7 separate regions of the Homo sapiens genome follow, and all the other regions are linked to region 5. The links are contacts of gene promoters, found by promoter capture Hi-C in blood cells and fetal thymus (Javierre and others, 2016). All regions are on one chromosome and are shown on one strand. The core of a region is centred on a gene start or on the middle of the fragment in contact, and the rest is flanking DNA. Distances in the headings are between cores, read along the strand shown. Region 1 overlaps ZDHHC3 (zDHHC palmitoyltransferase 3). Region 2 overlaps EXOSC7 (exosome component 7). Region 3 overlaps TGM4 (transglutaminase 4). Region 4 overlaps TGM4 (transglutaminase 4). Region 5 holds the start of ZKSCAN7 (zinc finger with KRAB and SCAN domains 7). Region 6 holds the start of TMEM42 (transmembrane protein 42). Region 7 overlaps ZDHHC3 (zDHHC palmitoyltransferase 3).

What was found. Contacts are between HindIII fragments. The CHiCAGO score rates a contact against its expected background, and 5 or more counts as called.
Region 1: a contact is called between a fragment that was not itself captured here and the fragment with the promoter of ZKSCAN7 in region 5, in 5 of 17 cell types (naive B cells, total CD8 T cells, activated CD4 T cells and 2 more). The highest score is 7.0, in naive B cells.
Region 2: a fragment that was not itself captured here is called in contact with the fragment with the promoter of ZKSCAN7 in region 5 in 2 of 17 cell types (total CD8 T cells and naive CD8 T cells); the score reaches 5.4 in total CD8 T cells.
Region 3: a fragment that was not itself captured here is called in contact with the fragment with the promoter of ZKSCAN7 in region 5 in 5 of 17 cell types (endothelial precursors, naive CD8 T cells, total CD8 T cells and 2 more); the score reaches 5.6 in endothelial precursors.
Region 4: a fragment that was not itself captured here is called in contact with the fragment with the promoter of ZKSCAN7 in region 5 in 16 of 17 cell types (total CD8 T cells, naive CD4 T cells, endothelial precursors and 13 more); the score reaches 13.6 in total CD8 T cells.
Region 6: a contact is called between the fragment with the promoter of TMEM42 here and the fragment with the promoter of ZKSCAN7 in region 5, in 5 of 17 cell types (M1 macrophages, M0 macrophages, non-activated CD4 T cells and 2 more). The highest score is 8.1, in M1 macrophages.
Region 7: a contact is called between a fragment that was not itself captured here and the fragment with the promoter of ZKSCAN7 in region 5, in 5 of 17 cell types (total CD8 T cells, naive CD8 T cells, total CD4 T cells and 2 more). The highest score is 8.0, in total CD8 T cells.

Annotation. Positions count from the first base shown.
Region 1 is chr3:44,949,803-44,953,063 of GRCh38, reverse strand. All of the region lies in intron 2 of ZDHHC3 (zDHHC palmitoyltransferase 3), which reads left to right. Among named protein-coding and RNA genes, the nearest start is that of ZDHHC3, 25 kb to the left of the region's middle. The HindIII fragment of the contact is 254 bases long and covers 1,877-2,130 here.
Region 2 is chr3:44,979,529-44,983,120 of GRCh38, reverse strand. The region is part of intron 1 of EXOSC7 (exosome component 7); the gene reads right to left. Among named protein-coding and RNA genes, the nearest start is that of EXOSC7, 5.1 kb to the right of the region's middle. The HindIII fragment of the contact is 1,694 bases long and covers 739-2,432 here.
Region 3 is chr3:44,886,098-44,889,332 of GRCh38, reverse strand. TGM4 (transglutaminase 4) reads right to left here. Exons shown (of 14, transcript NM_003241.4): 3 at 1,538-1,644. Among named protein-coding and RNA genes, the nearest start is that of TGM4, 13 kb to the right of the region's middle. The HindIII fragment of the contact is 7,378 bases long and covers 1-3,235 here.
Region 4 is chr3:44,908,406-44,911,699 of GRCh38, reverse strand. TGM4 (transglutaminase 4) reads right to left here. Exons shown (of 14, transcript NM_003241.4): 11 at 1,332-1,610; 12 at 573-742; 13 at 294-430. Among named protein-coding and RNA genes, the nearest start is that of TGM4, 35 kb to the right of the region's middle. The HindIII fragment of the contact is 1,408 bases long and covers 936-2,343 here.
Region 5 is chr3:44,553,514-44,557,030 of GRCh38, reverse strand. ZKSCAN7 (zinc finger with KRAB and SCAN domains 7) reads right to left here and starts at 1,838. Exons shown (of 6, transcript NM_001288590.2): 1 at 1,550-1,838; 2 at 1-101. RefSeq lists an enhancer at 1-272 and silencers at 1,785-1,924, 2,035-2,084. The HindIII fragment of the contact is 2,808 bases long and covers 4-2,811 here.
Region 6 is chr3:44,860,534-44,864,075 of GRCh38, reverse strand. It overlaps TMEM42 (transmembrane protein 42), which reads right to left and starts at 2,164. Exons shown (of 3, transcript NM_144638.3): 1 at 1,960-2,164. The coding sequence starts at 2,151. It overlaps MIR564 (microRNA 564), which reads right to left and starts at 2,188; the gene lies at 2,095-2,188. It also overlaps a transcript of KIF15 not described here. RefSeq lists silencers at 1,655-1,704, 2,035-2,084 and an enhancer at 2,115-2,704. The HindIII fragment of the contact is 26,756 bases long and covers 1-3,542 here.
Region 7 is chr3:44,929,852-44,933,530 of GRCh38, reverse strand. It overlaps ZDHHC3 (zDHHC palmitoyltransferase 3), which reads left to right. Exons shown (of 7, transcript NM_001135179.2): 5 at 332-413. Among named protein-coding and RNA genes, the nearest start is that of ZDHHC3, 44 kb to the left of the region's middle. The HindIII fragment of the contact is 2,449 bases long and covers 1,127-3,575 here.

The DNA of each region.
Region 1 (3,261 bases), core at 754-3,253, 400 kb before region 5:
GCATTTGGAACTATGCCTGGCCTGTAAGTGCTCAATAAATGTATCATTATTCAGCTTGAGTTATTGAATACATTCTTCGTGCCAGGCCCTAAGCAGTTTGCTGAGCTACAAGTTGACAGATGTTGTCTTGTCCTCCAGGAATGTCTTGTGATGTAGGAGAGATGGTGTGTAATTAAATGACGTGTTCCATACTATACATACAAGCTGTGGTAGCACAAAGGCTAAGTAATGGGTTCTGCCTTGGATGTGGCCTGGGGCCATGAGGAAGTAGCAGAGAAGGTGATCCCTGGGTGCATTTTAATTTGGGTGCTAGAAGCAAGGAGGTGCCTGGCAAGTTGGAGCGGGTGAGGGTTTGGTTGGTGCTTAAATGGAGCCCCTGAGGGTAGAAAGGAAAACTTAGAATGTTGCCTTTGGGAAACTCCAAATAGACCACAGGGAGGGACTGTTTACGGAGGGAGGTGGCACTGGATTGGTAGTCCAGAGCTGAGATATGGTGGCCTCAAGAGCCCTGCCCAGGAGCTTGGACTCTGGTCCATGGTCCCTAGGGAGCCAGTGAAGGTTTTAGGCCAGGGGAATAATGTGATCAGATTTCCATTTAAGAAAGTTTACTCTGGAAATTAGTTGGGAGAAAGGATAGAAGTGGGTTGCAGGATTTGAGGGAGAGACTAGAGGCAGGAAGACCTGGGAGATGCTCTAATAGTCTGGGGCAGATGATGATGGGCTGAACTAAGGCATGATGATGGCATGGAGGGGAGAGCATGGGATTCAAGGCACAGTCTGAGGCAGAATTAACCTGGTGGAGTGAATGGGATGTGGGGAAGAGGATTAGAGGAATTGGTGGTGGTTACTGGATTTCTACCCCAGGTGACAGGGTACATGGATATGCCATGGGCCAGGAAAGGGAGACTTGAGGGAACAGTTTGGGGAGAAAGCAGCAGGTTCCGTTTTAGCTGTGCACAGTGCCTTTGGGACAGCCAAATAGAGAGATCTGCAGATTCAAGAGGTCTGAGTTGGAGCTTGTGATTGGAGCATTATCACCGAGTGATGGTGGAAGTAGAGTTGAAGATTGTTCAGGAGAGAGTGCAGAATGAGCAGGGAAGGAAGGAGTCTTGGGGTGAAACCCTGAACCCTGAGGAACACCAGTAGCCTGGATGGGCGGGATTCCAAGAGGAGGGGAGAGGCACAGCCCCACAGACAGGGAGAAGGACAGTGAGGAGACCCCAAGGAAGACAAGGGCTAAGAATTGACTTTTGGATTTGGCCACAGTGAGTTGCTCAGTGACCTGGTGCGAACAGTTCCCTGGTATGGAGGGGACAGGTGCATGAACAGTAAGGGAGAGGTCAGCAGAGACATCAGGTGCACAAGGCTTCAAGCAGCTTAGCTATGAAAGGGCAGGGAGAGCTCAGAGCCTGCTAAGAACACAAGGAGAAAGCTTGGAGGTAATGGTATGGGGGCCCTGAGGGCCAGGATTGACTTGAGCCTCATCTTCCAAGACAGTGGGTACCCGTGAGTCCAGGGACAGTGAGGCAGTGAGATGAGGAATATGAGAAGGATTTAACCCTAGCAGCCTTAATTTGCTCCAAAATAGAAAAGGAAGTGGGCAGGGGTCAAGGAAGGTACTAGAAGTTTGGGCTACCTACTAAGGGGAATGGCTGATGGAGGCACATCACACCCTACCCCACCCCTAAATACACACAGGTGCACATACAAGTACCATTATGTTCCTTCTGCACTGAAAACTCAGAGCTCTGTGCAGAGAATGTGGAAGGAGTTCTGCCATGACTAGAGCAGAAAAGCTTTAACAGCTTCTACACACTTATTTTAAAACAGATTTAAATTGGTTCCACTGTGGGGCCAAATGTATATTTTGGAAGCTTTGTGATCTGCTTTTTATGAGCCTATAGATTTTTTAAAGTGTTTTTACTTTAGTACAAAGAGAAAAGACTTTAAGAATATGTTTCAGAATGTTGGTAGTACTTGTCTTGGGTGATCAAATCAGAGTGAATTTTTCCTTTTCCACTTTTTCATCTGTATTTTCTTTCTTAAAACCATGAACAAGTATTACTTTGGAAATGAGAGAGATAAAGTCAGTGCATTTTGACCTGCTAGGCTTGCAGCAGTGTGGAAGCTTCAAGACATCCCTGTGGAGTGTGTAAGAACGTGGGGTAGGGGGATAGGCATTTCTCAGTAATGCAAGCATGACAGCAGTGACAAAAATGTCTCAGGCCTTCAATCTCCTGCTGTCTGTCCAGGATTGTAAAGAACAAAGTTCCTTACCATGAACTAATAACAAAGAGCTCTGAAATCTGTGGAGATGAGCCCAAAAGAGCATAATATGCATTTTAAAAAAGAATGAAACAAAAAGTTGCCTGAGGCAGAGACTGGAAAGTGTATGCATCAGACTCCTCAGTCTTGGGGGCTGGCCCAGCTGCTCTCTGGCTCTGAGAGGTGGGCTCAGGTGGTTGGATGGGTGGGGCCCTGCCTGAATGGAGATGGGCCTTTTGGGAGATTTATGCAAATGGAGTCTCATTGTGGGGGCACATGTTTAGAAAGGCTGAGCTGCTGAATGATGTCTCTACTCAAGGTCTGGAATAAATAGGCCGTAATGAGAATACCAAACAAGAGCTCTGATTCCCTTTTATGGGTTAGAGGTTTCCTCTTGCAGTCTTTTATACAGGGTCCCCTGGGGCTTACAGTACATTCTGGTGGCTGGGACCTTCTTAAAAACTGGGACTAAACAAAAAAACCACCTGGGCCATAATTTAGGAAAACTCAAGCCTCGTTGCTTCATGTCCTTGGGGGAAAGGATGTCCCTTTGCACTTTTTCTCTTATACACATGACAATAGTAACTTCTAGTTGTGGTTTTCTGGTTTTAGGATCCACACAGTTGCCCAAACTCAATTACTTTTTACATGAAAGAGAACACAGCTGGGGACAATGGCTCACACCCCTGTAATCCCAGCACTTCAGAAGGCCAAGGCAGGAGGATCGCTTGAGTCCAGGAGTTCAAGACCAGCCTGGGCAACATAGTGAGACCCTGTCTCTAAAAAATTTTTGTAATTAGCTGGACATGGTGGCTTGTGCCGGTAGTTCCAGCTACTTGGGCGGCTGAGGTGGGAGGATCACCTAAGCCTGGAAGGTCAAAGCTGCAGTGAGCTGAGATCGTGCTACTGCACTCCAGCCTGGGCAACAGAGCAAGACCCTGTTTCAAAAAAAAAAGAAAAAATAATGAAAAATAAGGCCCTTTGGGCTTGAGACCC
Region 2 (3,592 bases), core at 336-2,835, 430 kb before region 5:
TGGCGCTACCAATCTGACACATCTGGAAGGACTTTAGACTCAAAGTGGTCCTCTGAGGTTATGTTAACCCCTCATTAACTTGCTTTGACTTGTCTAATACTCCAGATTCCTAAAGGAGAAGTGAGACTAAATTCCTTCCCCTACTAGAAGGTGACTGCCCCCCGCCCTTAGGAAAGGGGCCACATTTGGTCCAGCTTTGCAGGCTCGGGCCCATCACACAGCAGGCAAAAGTAGGTGTTGATCCTTGTTTGACTTTCCAACCCTGTTGAGTAGCCAGGCATTCCTCTGAAAGGATATGGCTCCATAACTCTGCATCCTGCAGTGTCTGGGCATAAGGCTTTCTGTGCCATGGGTCTGTAAACAGAAAGGGCAGAGAGCTAAAAATCAAGAGTCCTGAGGGCTGGCTCCAATTCTGTCATGGCCAGACTGAGCAACCGAATACTGACTGCTCAATCTCATAGTTGAAAACCAGGCTGAGGCCCTGATCTCCCTCTTCCATGCTATACCCCTAAACAATGCTTATGATGAAAGCAAGATCCACAGAAAAGAAATGGAAGCCATCAGCTGGGCTACAACTCCCTTCAACAGCCAAGAACATACAATAAAATGGCTTTCACAGGGTTCCAAGAGCCCTGTGGTAGGGTTCGTCAATTGCCATGGCCAGGTCTGAACCTATGAGGGCCAGTTTAATGTCCAGGTCATAGCCATAGCACTCAGTAGGCTGAACCTGGGAAAGCTTTATTGTGCCTAAAGCCCTGTAAAGGCCACATAACAGTCACCATCCATCCCCAACAGCCAGGACCAGGGGTAGGTGCCTGAACCAAAGGCATATAATCCAAAGGGTGACCAACTCTTTTTGGCGTGAAATACTACCAGACCAAACTGATTCTCTCATTGCAATCTGGTCTCTGATCTGAGAAACACTTGAGAGAAGAAAGGAGTTAAAGAGGAGCTGACAGGTCATGATATGGAGGAGCCCAGAGAGGCCACACGAAAGTAAAGGTATTGGGCAGAGGCAGATTCTACAAAGAAGGGAAGCTGGACAGCAAGTGGCTGCAGAGAAGGGATAAATCTTGGCAGAGAAAAGCAGAGATGTCACTAGAGATAAAGACAGACAGCCACACAGGCCATGAGATAATCCACGGAGCCCATGAGAGGCGGTACCTCAGAGCTGTCTGGGGACTTTCCAGCTCTTGCCACAGATCCCCCTTCTCTTTTTTCTTTTTCTTTCTTTTAAGAGACAGAGTATCTCTCTGTCACCCAGGCTGGAGTGAAATCTCCAACTCCTGGGCTCAAGCGATCCTCTGGCCTCAGCCTCCCAAGCAGCTAGGCCTACAGGCACACACCACCACACACCTAATTTTTTTTAGAGATAGGGTGTTGCTATGTTGCCCAGACTGGATGCCAACTCCTGGCCTCTGGTGATCCTCCCACCTCAGCCTCCCAAAGGGCTGGGATTACAGGTGTGAGCCACTGCACCTGGCCTATCCCTTTTCTTGAGATAATTGAAAAATCCCGATTCCTTCAAATCAAAAGAGGTTTAATTCTCAGGAGCCACAGGCTGAATCTTTAATGAGGTCACTATGAAGGCTGGGGATCTAGTGTGGATGGTTTAAGACAAAGTCACACTTCTGATGGAAAAACAAACTTGAAAGGGAGCCAGCATTTTTTCTGTGTTAACCACAGCCCAAGTGCTTGACATCTCTTATCTCATCATTCCTCATAACCCCATTCTACTTCCAGGTGCATAAGTCCCCATTTTACACAAGGGAAGCAGGTTCAGTTATGCAAGTAAAACCACTTATTGTAAATGGTGAAGGTGCCTGCTCAGTCTGACTCCAAAGCCTCATTCAAAAAGAGGCAGGAAACCATATGACTTCAGCAGGAGAGAGCAGAGATTTCTTTATCTCTGGTCAGTGGCTTACCCATGGGCCAATGTCTGGTGGCTGCCCCCAAATTTCCCAACACTTTATGATAATGTCCATTCTCAGGCCCCAGCCCCAGAGAGTCTGATTCAGAATGTTGGGGTAAAGCCTCAGAATCTGTATTTTGTAGGTGAGTAAAATGCACTTCAAGGCTTCAGAATCCCTGGGCTAAGAGGGAGGTTAGCAATGGCTTCTCATGGATGAGGAAAACACACATCTAGCCCAGTAAGCCAGAAAAGAGGATAAATCCTAGATTCTAAAAATTCTGAAGTCTGCTCCAAGTTCTGCATGGTATGGGCAGAGTAAATCGTTTATGATACTAGTAAGACAAAAGCTATACAAAGAAATGCAATATAGGGTTCTAAAGGAACTTATACTCAATGTGGGAAAAATGCAACCAAAACAATACAGCAGTATATGCCATATACTATTTAAGCTCTAGAAAAACTGGGGAGTGGGAGGTGTCAATTAGAACTTTCTCTTTCCCTTCCAGTTTCCCCACAAGCTTTTAGAGAAAGGGGGAAAGAAAAGGAGGTAGAGGAAGCAAAGATTCTCTCCTGCCTTGATCTCTGGATCCCTACTGAGGAAATGGAAGAAATGACTTTCACTGCAGCAGGAAGGTGGCCTCAGAGTCAAGTATGGGCTTTGCAATCAGACAGGTCTGGATTTAAATCCCAGTGCCACCACTCAATTACTGTGTCACCTTGACAAGCGACTCAACCTGCCCGAGCTCAGTTCCTCATCTATAGAGATAACATTTACCTTCAGAACTGTTGTAAATATTCAATGAAATAAAAATTATAATATGTACCTAATAAGAATGGGATATAGCCTTCAAAGACTGAAAGAGAACCTAACAGAAACCAATCAAATTATTTATCAAAATACCGATTTAATCCACCTTTTTGATTCTCTGTTCTCCCCTGGGAGAGGGGATCTGTTCACCAGGTTGACTCAAATTGTATCACCTAGACTCCCTTTGCTGGCTTCTGGTTGGGTTTGTCCAGTGGAAGATACCAGATCAGAGGGTGCCCCTCACCCCCAATCTAGTGGCCACATTTCTGATAGTGCCTGCATCTATCGAAGACTATGACTTATGTTGGGCAGCCCTTCCTCCACAGTTCCAGCTATCACTGAAATGTGGTAATACTGTTTCCTCCCCTGGCCCCTTTGGAATAGGGGCAGTAGCCACTCCCAGTAGTTGTCTTGGGGCTCCTCAACATCTCTTATTGGTTCCCTGAAACCCCCCCCATACTGCTCTAGAGTCCCATCATAAAAGTCTCCTGAACTACCTGAAGAGGGTTCCATTTTCTGCCAATAACTAAAATGATCCACCCTCCCTTCTCACAAACTGACTTCTCCCAAGTGTGACACATCCTCTAGTGGCCATGTTTGAGCCTAATTATTCTGTCCATCCTTTCCCTCAACCCCCTAAAAGAACTAGAGTTTCTTTCTCTTGGAAACATGAGTTCAGAACTGAACGAGAAGGAATGGTCTCTTTTACAGAGGAACTGGGAAGGAACCACATTTTTTCTACCACTGGCCCAAGAAATAGAAAACCAATCTGTAGGGAGACAAAAACAAAGCAAAGAGGGGGAAAAAAAAAACCAGCAGAGATTAGGATTCCTGGAGAAACACTTGCAGCCTTGTAATCCATACTGTTTTGC
Region 3 (3,235 bases), core at 231-2,730, 330 kb before region 5:
TGGTGCTGGCGATGGCAGAAGTAGCCTTGAGTGCCATTGCAGCATTGAACTCCTGGGGTCAAGTGATTCTCCCACCTAAGCCTCCCAACTAGCTGGAACTACACGTGCCCACCATCACTCCTGGCTAATTTTTTTTTTTTTTTTTTTTTTTTTTTTTTTTTTAGTAGAGATGGGGTAGCCCTGTGTTGCCCAGGCTGGCCAGCTCTACCTCTTACTGGCTGTATGACCTTGGCTGATTACTTAACCTCTCCTGTGCCTCAGTTTTCTTGTTTAAAAGTTTGGAATGATAACAGGCCCCCTTCTTTGTGGGAGCATTGTGAAAATTAAATGAGCTAATAAATATAAATGTTTAATTGTCATTATTTTGCTGGTGGGGAAACTGAGGTTCACAGAGGTAGCCCAAGAGGTGGAGCTGGGATCAAACTCACTGTGCTACAACTCCAGAATCCACAAGGCTAACTCCCCATACCCCTCTTGTGGCAAGAGGGAGGAGGTTGTGCCCTCACTGTTCATTACAATGGAGCTCAGGAGAACCAGCCTTCCAGGGTGCAGGAAATGGCCTCCACCTTGATCTGGCTGGTGGTCCCACAGCTGTATTCATATGTAAAAATTCATTGTGCAAACCATTAAGATTTGTGTCCTTTATGTGTGTTATATGTCAATTAAAAAAAATTAAAAATAACACTTTTTGAGTAAAGAAATGCAGCTCCTGCCCACAACCCATGCCCACCTCAGGAGAGATTTTCATGATACCCTGAAAAACACTCAGATGCAAAATTGGGGTTGAGAGTCTGGGATCTGGATGGGAGGGAGAGGAAGGAAGAGGCCGGGGCACTAGCGAGGATTCCAGCAGCAGCTGGCCCATTCATCTCATTTCCACCAGCAGATTCTGCTTCCACAAAAACCCAATGTAGTTGCCATTTTTAAATCATGGCATTAGCTTAGCATTAAACTTCTAGGAATTTAGCCCAAGGAAATATCCATAAACCAGTCCAAAGATCTGGCCGAGACATGGTTCTTTACAACACTGGAAGATTGGAGACAACTGTGAACACCCAGTGCTCCCAAAAAGGGTGGAAAACCAGCCACCGTAAGCCACACACTCGGGCAGAAGCCACTGTGGAAAACATCCATTAGGTCTTGTCAAGTGAGTGAAGCATGAGATGGACCCCCATTTTGTATTTGACCATGACACAGAAAAAGCCTGGAAGGAAGGATGGGTAACTTAGTTGGTGGAACCATGGGTTATTTTTATGTACTTCTCTCCGCTCATGTCCTCCAGTGAACATTGTTCCCTTTGAAATGGAAAGGGGAAGGGTGACATGTAGGAGGTTTGGCCACAGCGATACTGTGTGCTTGGAGGAGGCTGAGTGGGGAAACAGACATTTGGAGCCATGGCCCCTCTATCATGCTGTGCTGTGGATGGCTTTAAACCATGTTACCAGCTGACAGGTGAGGAAGGGGATAGGGGCTGCTCACATTAGGAGCATTCCGCCAGAAGCCAGCCAGCCCACCCGCCAGCCCAGTGGGTGCTCACCTCTTTGCCAGACTCATTTTGAAGGGTTGCCTGCCAGTTGTAGTGGTCTGAGGGCGTCCTCGGGTCGAGCACCACCAGGGTGTGTTTGGCGATGCTAGGATTCGGCCCTGGAGACACCCAAAGGAAAACATTGGCCCAGCCATGGGCCACCCCCAAGACAATCTCCTCTGGTTCGGGCCCACCTACTGCCCACTCATGGAGCCCCCACCCCTCCTTTCCAGGCTCATTTGTCCCCTGGCTCCAGCCCCTCTAATTCTGCAGGGGCCTCCTTCTGCCCCACATGTCCAGTTTTAGTTTTCTGTTCAATTTAGATGAGCTTCCTGCCTCCTCTCCACGTCCTCCCTTTTTACCCATCAGATCCAGGTCTCCCTAGAGCTCCTGCCTCTGTCACATGCTCATTCGAGTTACCATTTGTTTAACCCTGCTGGCTCGTGCCACAGACCAACATGCTTGTTCACTCCACGCAATGCAGGGGAACTGCTTAACCTTCACTCCTCGTCTGGAGGAGGCAGATGCCACCGCCTACCCTGCAAGCTGTTGCAGGATCTTGTTTGAAAGGTCGGTCAGTTTATGTCATGAGCTCCAGGGACTACTAGAATCAAATCCAACCTCTTTCCATAGCCCACAGGTGGCCCTCAGTGAGGCTTCTCCCCAGCTCCCCACTTTCCTCCCTGTCATGACTGGGTTTCTGGTCCCCAGAGAGTTAGCTCATGACAAAGAGCATGTGACACAAGTGTTGTCTCCTCAGGGCCCTGGCACTTGCCGTGCTCATGGCTGGGAACACCCTGCTCTCAGCTCTTCACATGGTGGGACGTGGGTCTCAGCAGGGTCACTTCCCAGGGAAGCCCTTCCAACCCTGACAGAGTCAGCACCGACAGAGTCAGCCCCGCCCTGACCTGCTGCTTTCTGTCTTGCTGGAGGAGCCTCTTGTTTTTGGTTTCTTCATCATATCTGGCCCTGTCTGAAATTATCTTGCACTTTTGTTTGTTTACTGCTCTCTCTGCTAGTACAGTCAAGTCTAGGAGGCAGGAACTGCTTTACCTCTGGGTTCCCTGGCACAGAGTAGGTACTCAACAAATATTTGTTGAGTGAGTGATTCACACTATGTCATACATGGAGAGTGCTCAGTGCAACACCTGGCATGTGGCAAGTACTCAGGAAATTTTGGGTGAGGGAATGCACATGGACCCAGGGGTACTATAAAGTCACTGAAGTCAGCAACAGCACGGTCCCAGTCCATGCGTTGAGCAGGTAGCTCATGGCATGGCACACAGTAGGTGCTTATTTCATCTTGGATGAAGGGAATGGAGGCTGTTCTGACTGATCTCCACCAGCACGTTGGAGGAGACCCTAAGCCTGTTGTTCACTCAGAGAAGGAGCAAAAGGAGCGCTCTCCCAGGAAGTGCTATTGTATGCCATCTTGTAAAGTAGATCTACCTGATCTAATTTTTTTTTGAGACGGAGTTTCACTCTTGTCGCCAGGATGAAGTGCAATGACACTATCTTGCCTCCCTGCAACCTCCACCTCCCAGGTTCAAGCAATTCTACCTCAGCCTCCCGAATAGCTGGGATTACAGGCACCTGCCACTATGCCCAGCTAATTTTTGTATTTTTAGTAGAGACAGGGTTTCACCATGTTGGCCAGGTTGATCTCGAACTCCTGACCTCAGGTGATCTGCCTGCCTCGGCCTCCCAAAA
Region 4 (3,294 bases), core at 390-2,889, 350 kb before region 5:
GGCAATTCACAGGAGAGAGTCAATTAATGTAAGAAATATTCAACCTCACAAATAATCAGATGCAAAGTAAAGCAATGAGATTACTTAACCACTAGATTGGCAAGAATCAAAAAGATCTGTCGGTAGAGCATAAATTGATGCAATCTTTTCTCAAAGTAATTTGGCACTAGCAAAATGTATCTACATTTTGACCCTGTGACCCCATACTGGGAATTCACTTCTCAGGAATATGCACACATGTGCAAGATATATGTCCAGAAGCATATTTCTAAGAATACCTCAGGCAGACTCACCCATGGTCAGAGGTCTGTAGTGAGGAGATGCCCAGGCTTTCCAAAGAGAACTTGACGTCAGTCAAAGGGATGGCCAGGGTATTCTTGAAGATACAATTGCAGACAAGTAGCTGGCCAATTCTGCCTGTGTTAGGCAACTGTAGTAGGGTGGGGAGGAGAGATGGGGAGAGAAGATATGCATGAGCCAACCAAGGACCCTCAGGGTTCTTAGGGGCCCCGTCACACTCCATGGCCAACTTCCAGGCAGAAGGAGCCCTTTATGGCCTGCAGGAAGCTCACCTCTATAGAGAACTCAGGGTACTGGAAAGACGTGAATACTTCAGAGGCCATGATTTCCTTAGACTCCACAATTTCCGCAATGATGAAACCTCTGATAACTGGCTCATCATCTAATATAGCCAGGCTGTTGATGTAGGTCTTGGAGTCCAAGGTCAGAGTCACTTCTGATACTGCCAAAGAGTCAGGGTGGAGGGGAGAGGTCATTCATCATACCCCCCCAGTATGAGTTCTCCTCATCAAGCACAGAATTAGATTAACTTTGTGTGAATTGAACTGGATAACTTTGGACATGTCCCATACTCTCTTTAGAAAACAAGACGTTGGGCTCAAGATGGAATAATAATTGGCCAAGTTCTCCAAGCTTACATCCTGAGTCCATGACAGACATTACCCGTTGTCATCAGGACATCCCACTTGTTCCCAACACTGTGCCTTGGGTACTCATAATCATTGATCTGACTGGGCATCTGAGATTAAAATTTCTGCCACCATAGAAGACTTCTCATGACACTTTCAGCACCCCTAATTTATAACTCTACGATAGACCCAGGCTCCTAGTCCAGTGGTCTCTTTGGCTCACTTTTCTTCTGTGGCTGGCTTTCTTGTGACTACCAAGGGGTAGGTGCTCAATAAATGTTTGTGTTAACTCACACACAAAAATTTATCAATGTATGGAAGTTGTCCACAGAGGAGAAGAGGGATTTCAGATTGTGGGACCCTGAGCCCACTTGAGGCCTCTCCTCCCTCTGGTTCTGGTACCTTGACCTTGGATCTGCGAGGTCTTATTGAGGTCACACAGTTTTGCCATCTTCTTGCCAGTGTACAACTGTAGTTCAAAGGAGCCCAAGATGTTGACATTCTGTAGGGCAGCGGTCTTCCTTTTAAGAATCACGGTGAAATTAACAGAGTTTCCCAGCAGCACATCATCTGATTGTACCGACATGTGAAGAAAGTTCTCTTTTACAGGTCGTCTGTGCTCCCTCTCAGAACTGAGAAGGAGGAAGGCATGATCCATGACCTGCCTCTCCTCAGAGGAGCCTGAAAGAGACACAAAGGCAGCTTCCTTCAGGTGCTCCTTCAAGGACCAAATGTCCCAACCACCCGTGTGGCAGAAGGAGACCATCTGCCTGGCCAGGACTCCAGAGACATCCCTGGAGCCCATGAGCTATAGATTCACACAGAGGATCATTCAAATCCCCATTCCTAAGCAATAGCACATTCTGACATCAGTGGGAATGGCAGAATAAAGACCTCCAAAAATCTGCTTCTCCATAAAAGCAATGAGAACATTGGCAAAAATTATCAAATCAACTTTTTCAGAATTCTTGAAATTAACTAAAGGCTTATAATAATCTAAGGAGCATTTATTCAAGAAAAACAGCACAATCTCAGTAAGAATAGTTTTGTGGCATTCTGATTCCCATCTCCCCTTCTTTCCAGCTCCAGAGTAGACTCAAAAACCACAGCACCAAATCACAGTGAAAACCAGCAGCCTAGCCACCTCTGGAGGGGACAGAATGGTTTTGGAGTTCCGCTAAAAGCTCCACTACCAGAGAATTGTTGTTAATTGACCTAAGGGCGATTCCCTGGAAACCCTCATTCACAGAGTTTGTCTTCATTGACCTGACTCAGAGCTCCCTCATTACCAACAGCCTTTTCCCTGGAGCATTTGTTAAGACAAACAACCTGCAGCAATTGTTTACAACTGCAGTTTCCTAAGGCAATAAGGAAAAGAAGGGAGTTGAGGGGAAAAGAAGCCGACCAAAAAGCTTAAAAGGAAAAGCTGAGGGACAAAATGTCCACGGGGGCTTTGAAAAGCTCAGACAGATTCCTGGAAATCTAGAAGGTCTGAGAAAGATCTGATAAGGCTCTCACCTCTAACTGACCTTGAGGCTCAAGCAAGAAGTGAAGGCAGAATTGTAAATTGCCTGCCAGAGCATTGAAATGTACCCTAACTTGTACACAGAGCCCCTTGCCAAAGGCTAGGAGTCTTAATGATTCAAGGAATTTAAAGCAATATCCATCTAATCATTAGCTGACCATTCAGCAAACTGAGCAGAGAATTCAGTGGTCATGGACAAGAAAGATTATAGAATTTCTGGAATTATATCAGAGAAGTTGTTAAACAAATAGCAACCACAAAAGCAACCCTGGGATGGGGGACAGGATCTGATTTCCAGAGTTGCCATATTATGTTCTTTAAAATGTCCAATTTTTAACAAAAAATTACAAGACATGCAAACAAACTATAGGCCATACATGGTGGTGTGGGGGTGGCAGGGTAGGAACATGGAAACAGTCAATAAAAACTGTCCCTAAGGAAGCCCTGACATTGAACCTACTAGACAAAGACTTTAAATTAGCTATTTTGAATATATTCAAAAAACTAAAAAAAAAGTGTGAGAACAAATGGCTTGCCAAATAGAGAATATCGAGAGAGATTAAAATTATTTTTAAAAAAGAACCAAATATAAATTCTGGAGTTGAAAAGTACAATAATAGCAGATTAGAGCTTGCAGGAAAATCAGCAAACTTGAAGACAGGTCATAAGATTATCTAGTCTGAGAGACAGAAAGGAAAAACAATGAGGAAGAGTGAACAGAGCCTCAGAGACCTGAGGGACACCATCAAGTGTAGCAGTTGACAGACACCACTGGTCTCCCTCTCTATCCTTTCCCTCCCTCCCTGATACTTCTGTCACCCTGCAAAAAAAACAAAAAAC
Region 5 (3,517 bases), core at 589-3,088:
GCTTGTTACAGCTGCAGTTGGTCCGATTAAAATGATGGTCAATAGTTCAGGTCTCAGGAACTGTTTTTCAGGGTTGGAGAAAGGGGTGATGGTAGTGTGGCCTACAGAAACAAGAGTGAAATCAGAGTTCTTGGAGTATTCAGCCCCAGGCTGATGACAATCCTCCACTGAGTTAAAAAACAAAGCTCCAGGAAAAAAGAACACAACCAGGCATTCTTAGTAAGCATCTCTCCAAATGATGCCCTTCTTAAAGTTTCAGTGGCTCCCATTACCTACAGGATAAAATCTAAATGTCTATGCCTTGCATTCACAGCCCTTCACAACCTGGCCTTACCCCCTTCACAACCAGCCACACCCTCTACCACTCACCCCAAGTACCCATGCTAGAAAGACAGCAATGGTCTCCAATGTGGGAAATGCAGGCTATCCCAAAGGGTGCAAGAGAAAATACTAAGTTATTTAACTCCTATTTAATGTATGTTTTATAATGTGCATTACAATTTGTATAGTAGTATTCATGTTTAAATTACAAATAAACCAATGTAGGGAGTAAGTGATCAAACCTCTTCTACTGATAGAAATGCAAAATAAAGAAAGTTTGGAGCTAAAGCTCTAGAGACACACTTAGAAGCCACACATACTCTTTCTTTGAATTTTTCTTCTTCAACTTTTGGCAAACTTGTCTGTCAAGACCATGAACAAAGGCAACTTTTTCTTGGTTTTCCTGATTGCCCCATCAGGAAGAGTGCTGGTAGCTTCCCTTTGTGTACCTCTCACTATAACCCTTTAACTGGTTTATGCACAACTCACCACTCTCACCCTCCAAACTGCTGCACGGCCACCAAAGGAAAGGAACCAAATGGAATCAGAAAATACTAGACCTTTTTTTACTCAATGCACCTCCCCTAGAAAGCCTTCCTGATCACGCTAGGCTTAGAGAGGTGGTTATTGTCTCAGTGATCCCAAACTACCTTTTTCATTCAAACCTCTAGTAGAGCACATCTCACACTGTAATCGTTTGTGGTTTACACGACTGTCTCCCCTGCTTTCTGGGAGGATACAAAGGGCAGAGCTGACTTCCAGTCATCTTTGTACACGTGTGCACATGGCACACATAATTGGGAAATGAATGAATATGATACATTTAGCTGACACTGAAGTGGAGGAAAACTTTGAACGTTTTAAAATCAGCACCTTACTGGTAACTAGGGCATCTGTGCTGTGCTTCCAGTTCACCAAGAGCCCAGATCCCTGTGTCTCAATCTCTTTAAAAAGACAAAGAAGGACTTTAAAATAATCTGTAAACTCTGCTCTAAGATCCCATATATGTAGAAAGTTCAGGCCATTCTCCTGCTTCCCATAGTGTTCCGAATGCTCAGCACTTTAAAATCTCAATTGGATTTTTGCATTTCCAAGTCACGCTCCACGTTTGCGATTCTGAGCCTGGGTCTGACCCAAATATGACAGTTCATACAGTTTCCTACTGCAAGAGCTGGGAAAACAGCGATCTACCTTTCGTGTTAAACCAGGCTTCAGCAGCGCCGCTCACCTGGCCACGTCTGCCCTGTTCATCGCTGTACCCGCAGATACCCGGCTCCGTGCCACGCACGAATGGTCAGGGGTATGAGACAAAGAAGCGGCTCTACATCGGGCGGCTTCTGAGAGTCACGGGGACCGCGCCGCCTGCCGCCGGGAAGAAGCGCGGTCCTGGCCAGCGTCGGCGACCCGAGCTCCGGCCGCGCCTCCCTCCGCGTCTCGGCCCACTCGCGGTGGCACTCGGCACCGAAGCCGGACACTCTACTGCCCGTTAGACCAAAAACAATGGCCGAGCCGGAAGCGAGAGAGGCCTCGACTTCCGCCCCCTCCGGGATCCCGGAAGTCTCGTTTGCGAAGGTGGGCGCGCGCGTCCCCGCACCCGGGAGAGCTGGCAGGGCTTACTTCTCGGCTGTGCCCGGCCACCTGCCGCGGGCGGGGTCGGGGTCTCGCGAGGGCCCAGGCCACTCACATCCCGCTCTCAGGCCATAGTCGGGGGATCCAGACGCGTCCCAGCTCTACACCTTCTCCTCCAGGTGTCCTTGGGAAAGATACCCAACCTCCAAGCCTGTTTTCTCATCTGAAAAAAATGCAGAGCATAATGCGTACCTCACAGGGCTGGGAGCACCGCATGAGGTTAACAGACACTACATAGCAAAAGGCCTGGCATATCCTGAGCAGTCAGTTATACCATGTGTGATGCCCAATCTGAAGTCTCAGTGAAGGGAGCAGCAAGCATCTCCCATCTTAAAAATGAAGAAGCATGTCTAGAAATTGTGATATTTTGGCCCATAAATGTGGTTAATATTTCGTAAGACAGCACCAGCATTCTGGTGTCCATGTAGAGGTTCCTAGGGAGACCAAGAAGCAGATAAACTGAGAAGGTGTGGGGACAGTTTGTAACCTAGTAGGCAGTTGTCTAGCCTCTGGGTGGCAGGTGGTACCCAGGTGACTTTCACTTTGAAGAATGGTTTGCATACAGAAGGAGGATATGAACTGGTCCTTGTTACAAACATGGTTGAGCAGGCCCTGTGTGTTAATGACCACGGGTGAAGGGCAAAGGGTGTGATGAAGTTAACTGTGTATCTTTATTATAGCACAGGAGATAGGTCCTTTACAGGGCCCAAAGTAAACAGTCTCCTGGACTGTCTAGGGATGGCAATATTTCAAAGGTGCCCTGGGCCTAACCCTGGCCCTGACATATGTTCCTCATATATCTGTGTGAGCCAAGATAGAAACAAAGACACCAGAAGTCCTGCTCCAGAGTTTCCACAAGCTTAAAAGTAATCTCTTGGAGCAATCTTTGTCCATTGATCCTAATGGTGGTTTCCTGTCATCAAGGTCCCCCTCTCCATTTGGAAATCTCACAAGGAGGTTTTGGCTATTTAAAACCAGGAACCCCAGCCTCTGCCTGACATTGATGCTAGACATTGCCTACTGGCAAATCAAGGCCTCAGAAGCTTAGGATTCTTGAGGTGGAAGGCAAATCAAGGCCCCAGAAGCTTAGGATTCTTGAGGAGGAAATCTCCCAAGGCCAGGCTAAATGCTCTCAGACCTGATTTTCAGGTCTCCTTGACCACGTGTTGTCCTGCAGTCCTGGCTTCCTATTATAGGAGACACAAGGATTTGGAAACCAAGATTGAGGTTTTTTATTCTTCAGAGCTGTTTCATGCACAAGTGGTTGGCTTTCATTGGCTGTAAGGACCAGGCCCATCTGAGCAGTGTGTTTAGACTTCAGAGGCACTTCTGTGACCAACACTGTGGGCCTGGCCCGATCTACCATGACTGGGTTGGGCCCCAGTGGGCAAGACACTTGATGATGCCTCGATATAGCACCTTAGGACACCTACCTTTGGGCCAAAGACAACCACAGAAGGCTTTTAGGAATTCTGTACTCCAACTCGATTTCTCTTGAAAATCATCACTCAAGCTTTGGTATGAGAGCTAACAAATAGGTAACTCAAATTCTACATGCCTGAAACGA
Region 6 (3,542 bases), core at 915-3,414, 310 kb before region 5:
TCAGAGGGCCTCAGAGCTTTCCTGCACAGGGCTTCACTTAACCCTCAGTGGGCAGCAGACCCATCTTACAAATAAAGCAAATTCAGAGAAGATACTCATTTGGCCACCTTGCTGGCCATATGATCTTGGGAAGAAGCAAAATGCTAATCCAAAGCCAGTATTTTCTACTGAACACCGGCCCCTTATTGGTCCCACAATGACCAGTGCTTGAAGATCAGTCCCAGAGGGCCAAGTAGTTCTTACTCCGTAGGTAGTAAGCCTAGGGTAGAGTTCTTATTTCTTGAGATCAGGCAAAGCATGAATTAGCAATGTCTGCTCTGTATTCCCACCCCCAAATCCTATACAAGTTACAGCCCACTAAGGCTGACCCCCTCTGGGTATTCTTGAGCTTTTACTCTGTGTTAGGTCCTGGGCTGTGTTTAAGCATTCTCATTTATTCCTTAACTTCATTTTACAGATAAAGAGCCAGGGGCATTAAGTAACCTTCCTAAAGTGCTACAGCGGTGAGAGCCACCAGGCTTCACAAGCAGGCAGTGTACCTCCATGCTCTTAACTAGGGCACAGCCTTGCCTGAGGGAAACACCACCTCAGACTATTTAGTGATCCCAGACATCCCTTGGAGAACTTGCAGGTATTTTCTTTCTTTTTTTTTAAAGGAGAAAGTCTCAAGAGAAGAGAAGATCTTTAGAAGCCTCCTACACAAAGGATATGCAGTCCCCCTTGCTTGGTGGTGAGTTAGAAACCTGCCTGGAGACAAGGCGGCGGGGGGGGGGGGTGCGGAATCTAAATATACTTATTACTTGTAATGGTTTCTCAGCAGCTGAACACATAGTGTCTTGAGAAAAAGGTGCTTGCTTATAACTTACACCAGGGTGTTCAATTTTTTGGCTTCCCTGGGCCACACTGGAAGAACTGTCTTGGGTCACACATATAATACACTAACACTAATGATATATGATGAGCTAAAAAAAAAATAATAAATCGCAAAAAAATTCATGTTTTAAATTTGCAAATTTGCGTTGGGCCGCGAGTTGGACAACCTTGTCTTACACAAAGCAGCATATGGGCCAGTGGCAACCTGCTTAAAGGGTTATGAAGGTCTAGTTCCTGACAACAAACTTCACGGCCCATACAAAGTTATTCATTTTACTTTCGACCACTTACCCCATGAACTACACCCAATGGGATACTAACCTGAAGCATGGCAGCTACTACTGGATTAGCCCTAAATAGGCTTAACCCTAAATAATCAGTGACCACTGTCCAGGTCAGAGGCTAACCTTGGGCTGCAGACGCAATGAAACCCCTATAGCAAGCAGAGGCTGGTCTACGACGTGGGAGGGAGAGGCAGAGATACACCTTAGCAGACGCCAGGATGCAAGTTTAGGAGTTCTCAGCGTCAGGAAAACATCCAGAACGTCTCTGTCAGTATCCTCTTATGCCTACAGTATCCCAAACTCCCAATTTTCCTGGTAGTGGGGCAGACTGGTCATCTGGTCACAACACCCGTTAATTACGGAGTAAAGGGATGGGCAAGAGGCTTCTCACCTTAAGAGTCACGTGGAGAGAAATGCTCAGGCACAAGGGACTTAAAATGAGAGGTAGAGGGTGGATGTAGGAGGTGTAGTTCTTCCCCGAGAGCGAACTAGCCCAACCGGAGAAAAGGTTTTAGGTCCCTGGTAAGGGAAGAGGCCTCAGTCCCCGACGTCTCTTACCACCTACACTGGACGAGGGTTTGGCGTGATTAGAGGCGAAACACTCTCTGCCACCCCAGCTGACCGCAGCGCCGCCCGCGGCCCGGGGCCCCGGCGGGACAGACCGGCGAGGGTGCGGCGGCGCCCTGCGCCCACCCCCGCCCCACCCCAAGAGCCCCGCGGGCCCCGCAGCGCCCCTCCTCCGCCCAGCGGCGCCCCGCCCGCCCGCCCGCAGCAGCAGCACCAACAGCGCCCCGGGCTCGACCTCGCTGCCGAAGGCCAGCTTGGCGGAGGCGGCGGCCAGGGCCCCGAACGCGCCGGCGCACAGACAGTTGAATACGCCCCAAAAGCGGCGCCGCATCGCACCCGCCTGGAGGTGCGGAGGGAATTCCGCGGGGGTGTCAGGGTACGCGGTCGCGGACACGGCGCCGCCCGGAGGCCCCGGCCTCTCGGCCATGTTGCCTGCTGACACCGTGCCTGGCACCCGCTGCCCGCAGGGCAGAGCGCGCGCCGCGATTGGATGGCAGCCTCACGTGACGCGACGCTCCTGTGACGCCACGCTCCGGCAGGCCCCTTGGGAATCGCTCTCCGGCGCCTCGGAGGGGGCGGGCCAGGTGGCAGAGACCCTGGGCTGTGGCGGCCTCCGGCCTAACCTGTAGTAGGTTTGTGCTCTGGGGAGGACGTCGGGACCCGAGGCCTGAGGCCAAGCCGGGTACTGTGGACGCTGTGGTAGAAGGTAAACTTCTCGCGGCTTAGCCGTCTCCATCCCGGCCACCCGGCTCCCGGTGAAACTTATTAAAGATGCCTAACGGGCCCCGCGCCGGCCCACCGAGTCCATCCACGTCGACCAGGCTTCTCCGCTCCACCCTCCAGCCTGAGGACCGCCGGACCAAGAGATGCCTCGGCAGAGGGCGCTGGGGACCTCCAGACCCAGAAAGACGCCAGAGCCCCATATGGGGACAAGCGCATCACAGAAAACCGAAAAAATGAGGATCTGCGATGAGAGGAAGACAATGATCCATAATCAAGCCACGCAGAATCAACATGACTTCTAATCTCCTGTTATACTTACGTATGTTTAGAATGTTTCCGGCTGGGCGTGGTGGCTCATGCCTGTAATCCCAGCACTTTGGGAGGCCGAGGCGGGTGGATCACCTGAGGTCGGGAGTTCGAGACCAGCCTGACCAACATAGAGAAACCCCGTCTCTACTAAAAATACAAAATTAGCCGGGCGTGGTGGTGCATGCCTGTAATCCCAGCTACTCGGGAGGCCGAGGCAGGAGAAGCGCTTGAACCTGGGAGGTGAAGGTTGTGGTGAGCTGAGATCATGCCATTGCACTCCAGCCTGGCCAACAAGAGTGAACTCCGTCTCAAAAAATAAAAATAAAAATAAAATGTTCCCATTTAAAAAGTACACGTCCTTGAAAATAAAGTGTTGAAATGTATAAAGTGCTATTTCCACTCTCCAGGAAAATCAGTGTTAATAGAGCATTTTTCTATATGTCTATTTAGTTATATATAGTTAAAATGTTAAAAAAATTATAGAATATGTATATGCATTTTTTAAACAAAAATGATTTCACAGTTGAACATACTGTTTAGCAGCATTCTTTTTGTATCTTCTGTTTAGCAAGTTTTTATGGAAGTCCTTCCACACCATGCTGCTTCTCTCACAGGGTGGTTTTGTGGCTCAAATAAAAGCACGGATAAGGCCAGGCACGGTGGCTCACGCCTGTAATCCCAGCACTTTGGGAGGCCAAAGGTGGGTGGATTACGAGGTCAGGAGTTCAAGACCAGATTGGTCAAGATGGTGAAACTCCATCTCTACTAAAAATACAAAAAAAATTA
Region 7 (3,679 bases), core at 1,102-3,601, 380 kb before region 5:
TCAGCACCCTGGCTTTTCAAGGGAGGAGGTACAGCAGGCTTGAACCCCCCGCCCAGGCAGCTCATACTGCCTGGAGCCCAGGTCATGCCTGGTGACGGGCTTGCTTCTGTTCTGGTTCCACGTACTCCCGGAGGTGGCTGCTCACTTGACCCAGGGCTGGTGGGTAGACGGATCTGTAGGGAATCGCTAGCTGGCCCTCTGGTCCCTCCTGGTCAGGCCTTGTCCTGACTAAGTGTTCCTGAGTGGCAAATTCTGAGTGCCCCTGTCCCGGGAGCCCGTGAGGTCAGAGGATTCTCACAACAATGGTGTCTGCACTGGTTTCCTGTTTCAGATGTACATAGCTCTCATTTCCTTGCACGCCCTCATCATGGTGGGATTCCACTTCCTGCATTGCTTTGAAGAAGATTGGACAAGTGAGTATGTGCTGAGGCTTTCCTCCCTGCTCCAGGGTGGGTGTGTGACCTGAGTGGGGGGCGGGGAGGCTCTTTGTTTCCTTCATGGTGCCAGGGGCCAACCTCATTTTATTAAATCTCCTGAAAGCCTATGGACTGAACAGGGAAGAAATGGCAGAGACTGGAATCTCTCTTCATGAAAAAATGCAGCCCCTTAACTTCAGTTCGACAGGTAAAGTCATGAGTTGGACAGACAGACCCTCTGGACTGAGCGTGCCCAGGGAGAATGCAGGCCCCAAGCAAGCACAGAGGCCGGTTCCAATGCGTGGGAGCCATGCTGGGAGAGAAGTTTTGTTTTCTGTCTTTCCATGAGGCACTTAAATCAAAGATCATTTTATTCCAGTCTTGCAGAGATTCATTTTTTACTTTCTGGCTAGGACATGGAGTTTCTTTATTAATTTCTTTGGTTTTTGTGATGGTGTTTTTTAACTGCTTACACTGATAATCGTGAATTTACATTAAGATTGTAGATAATTCTTCCTGCTTTAGAGGCTTCCCACTGAAATGTGCAAATACTGAGGGAGAAACTCCAGCCAGAAGATTGCACAGATCCTGAAGGAAAACAATAGATGCTGGAGGAAAAGAAATAAGAGGCCACCTGCTGGGCTGGCTCTTTCATACTCACAATCTGTGAGACAAACGTCTTGAGCAAGGAACATTGTATTTCCTAAGCTTTTCCCTCCATGGGCCTCCTTTTTTTTATTTCACTGTCTTTAGAACTTTTGCTCTTCCTATACATGCTGACTTCTTCCCACAATTCTGGCATAAGTCAAATGGCAGAGGTCAAGCCAGCAGACAATAGAGATAGGAGAGGAGGGTAGGGGTGAGTGGGTATGTGCAGAACTTGCCATTCTGCATATCTAGGTGAGTCGCCAGCAAGTTCCTGATCACTTGGTGAGCATTCTGAAGTACATGCCTTCTGCTAGGCCTGGGGAACCAGATCTACTCCAGATGTGGCCTTGGTTACTTGACAAGGGAGTCCAATTAGGATATTTTATCATCCCAAACACCTCCCACCTCTCGTCAAGTTAACAGACTTGGGCAGGTGATAGGGGTAGCACAGACTGTCAGTGAGGCAAAATGTCCCTGTTGTTGTAATGGTGCTGGAAGGCACCATTGCATTAATGCCTACTGGGAGCCAGGAATGGCCCAAAGGGCTTTTTGAGCAGTGCATTGTTTCGCCCTTATAACAAGCCTGCAAGGTAGGAGAGATGCTTCCCACTTTGCAGATGACAAAAGCTGTGGCTCACAGAGGATGAACAAGTTTCCAGGATCACTCAGCTAACAAGAGGGTCTGTAGTTCAAGCCTAGGTCTGGAGCAAGATTTTTAGCCCTGTCTGGTTGACTCCAGTGGTCAGGGTCCTCCCAGCCATGCTCTTGATTAACTGTGGTCAAAATTCCTGATGGAGTGAGCTTCAGGCACCCAGCTTCTATGGCAGCTAGGCTGGGAAGGCACAGGTCAGTACCCAAAGTTGAGGCCTGAGAGTTGACTGTATATGACCATTACTGCCCTCACTGCTCAGCCCTGGTGGAGCTGTTGGGCCATAGGAGCTGGTGTGAGTGGGGGCAGAGGGCTGTCCCCCAGGATTAGGGCACTTTGAGTTGATATTTAAAGAAGGGTAGGGAGGTGGTTCCACACTCCCTGATCTGATTCCTACCTCCCCAAACTCCATTGGTAATTCCTGGGGCCCAGCCTACAGAGGAATGATGCTTGCTGCTTTGCAAGGAGGGAGAATAGGCCATGGCCCTGGGCTCTTCCACCAGCTCCAGGGCAGCAGAGGTAGGTAAGAAGGAGGTGCTTTGTCCAGCAGGCACCCCCATGTGCTCCTGCCAGGCCAAGGCCGAACTGTGCAGATGTTCTTTCATGAATTCTTAAGTATTCCCCTGTACAGAAAGGAAAACAAAATCTCAGAAAGCCCAAACCTCTTGCCCAGATCCTTTTGTTGTCAGGCACTGTCCCAAGGCTGGTTGTACAGCAGTAAGCAAAACAAAGTCTCCCCGCTCCTGGAGTTTGAAGTGTAGTGGGAGAGGCACCTATCAAACCAGTACAGAAAGAAACAGGTAATTCCACAATGCAAAGGACAGGAAAGACACAGGGGCTGGAACAGAATATTAGTATGGGCCTTGTAGTTAGAGCTCATGATCAGGAATTGGTGCCAGGATTTGTACCTCGTGGTGTCTGCCAGATGTCAGAGCCTCTCATTCTCCCCAATACCCTGCCCAGCCCAAGGCCACCCATACTTGTAGCCACCCACGGCCAGGCCATCAGGCTGGTGGCCACCCCAACCAAGCCCTGCCCCACAAGGAGCCAAGAAGAGAAATCATTCTGAGGCATCGATAAGTTCCCAGGGAAACCTGAGGAGATATGCATTGTGGATGAGATGTTTCTTACCTGTCACCCACATGGTGCTTGGTATCTTTCCAAGCTCATTCCCACATTTGACCTCCCTTGCCCCTCCTGACATTCCCGTGGGGGAGCCAGCAGGACAGCTTGGATGGAGTGCTTACTCCCTTAATTCCCAGAATTAATGAAGCCCGACTCTGCCCTCCAGGATCTGATCTTTCCAGCCAGGGAAACAGGCACAAGTATGGAAGCAACGAGAAATAAACCACAGCCCAGGCTCAGCCAGCATGGGCCGCTGCACTGAGGCACAGAAGTCCTTAGGTGAAGAGTGCCAACCAAGGGGCCTAGCCTGTCTGTCAGCACCATCTTCCAGGCCTGGCATTTCCCAGGCCACCTTGCTTCAGGGCCTTCCCCTCCCTGCTCACCCCCACCATCTCCACAGCACCTTTGCCTTTCTCTTCCATGCGCTGGGTTTCTGACTTAGACTTTGTTCAGACAAAAGATTCTGCTTAAAAGCAAACCATACCTCTAGTCAAATCTCACTGCTTCACAGTGCAGTGGGTGGAGGCCTGAAGATGGCAGGACTGGCCTCAGGTCCCCGGGGCTGGAGGCCAGGACAGTGAAAGTGCCTACTCTGGGCCCATGCCTCTTTGGTCGACTCCCTGGCCTTTGGCACTGTTGGCCTCGGTGCTGCAAATGTCCCTGGGAGCGGGGGCAGTGCATTACCTCACACTGTGGTCAAGGCTGAGACCCAGTAGTTCAGCTGCCCCTGCCAAGCTTAAAATCCCAAAGCCACCAAGTGATCCTCCACAGCTGCCTGTGAGCTGATGGGGCACAGAGGGGCAGCACGTCATACAGGAATGCCCAGAAAACCTATGGCCAT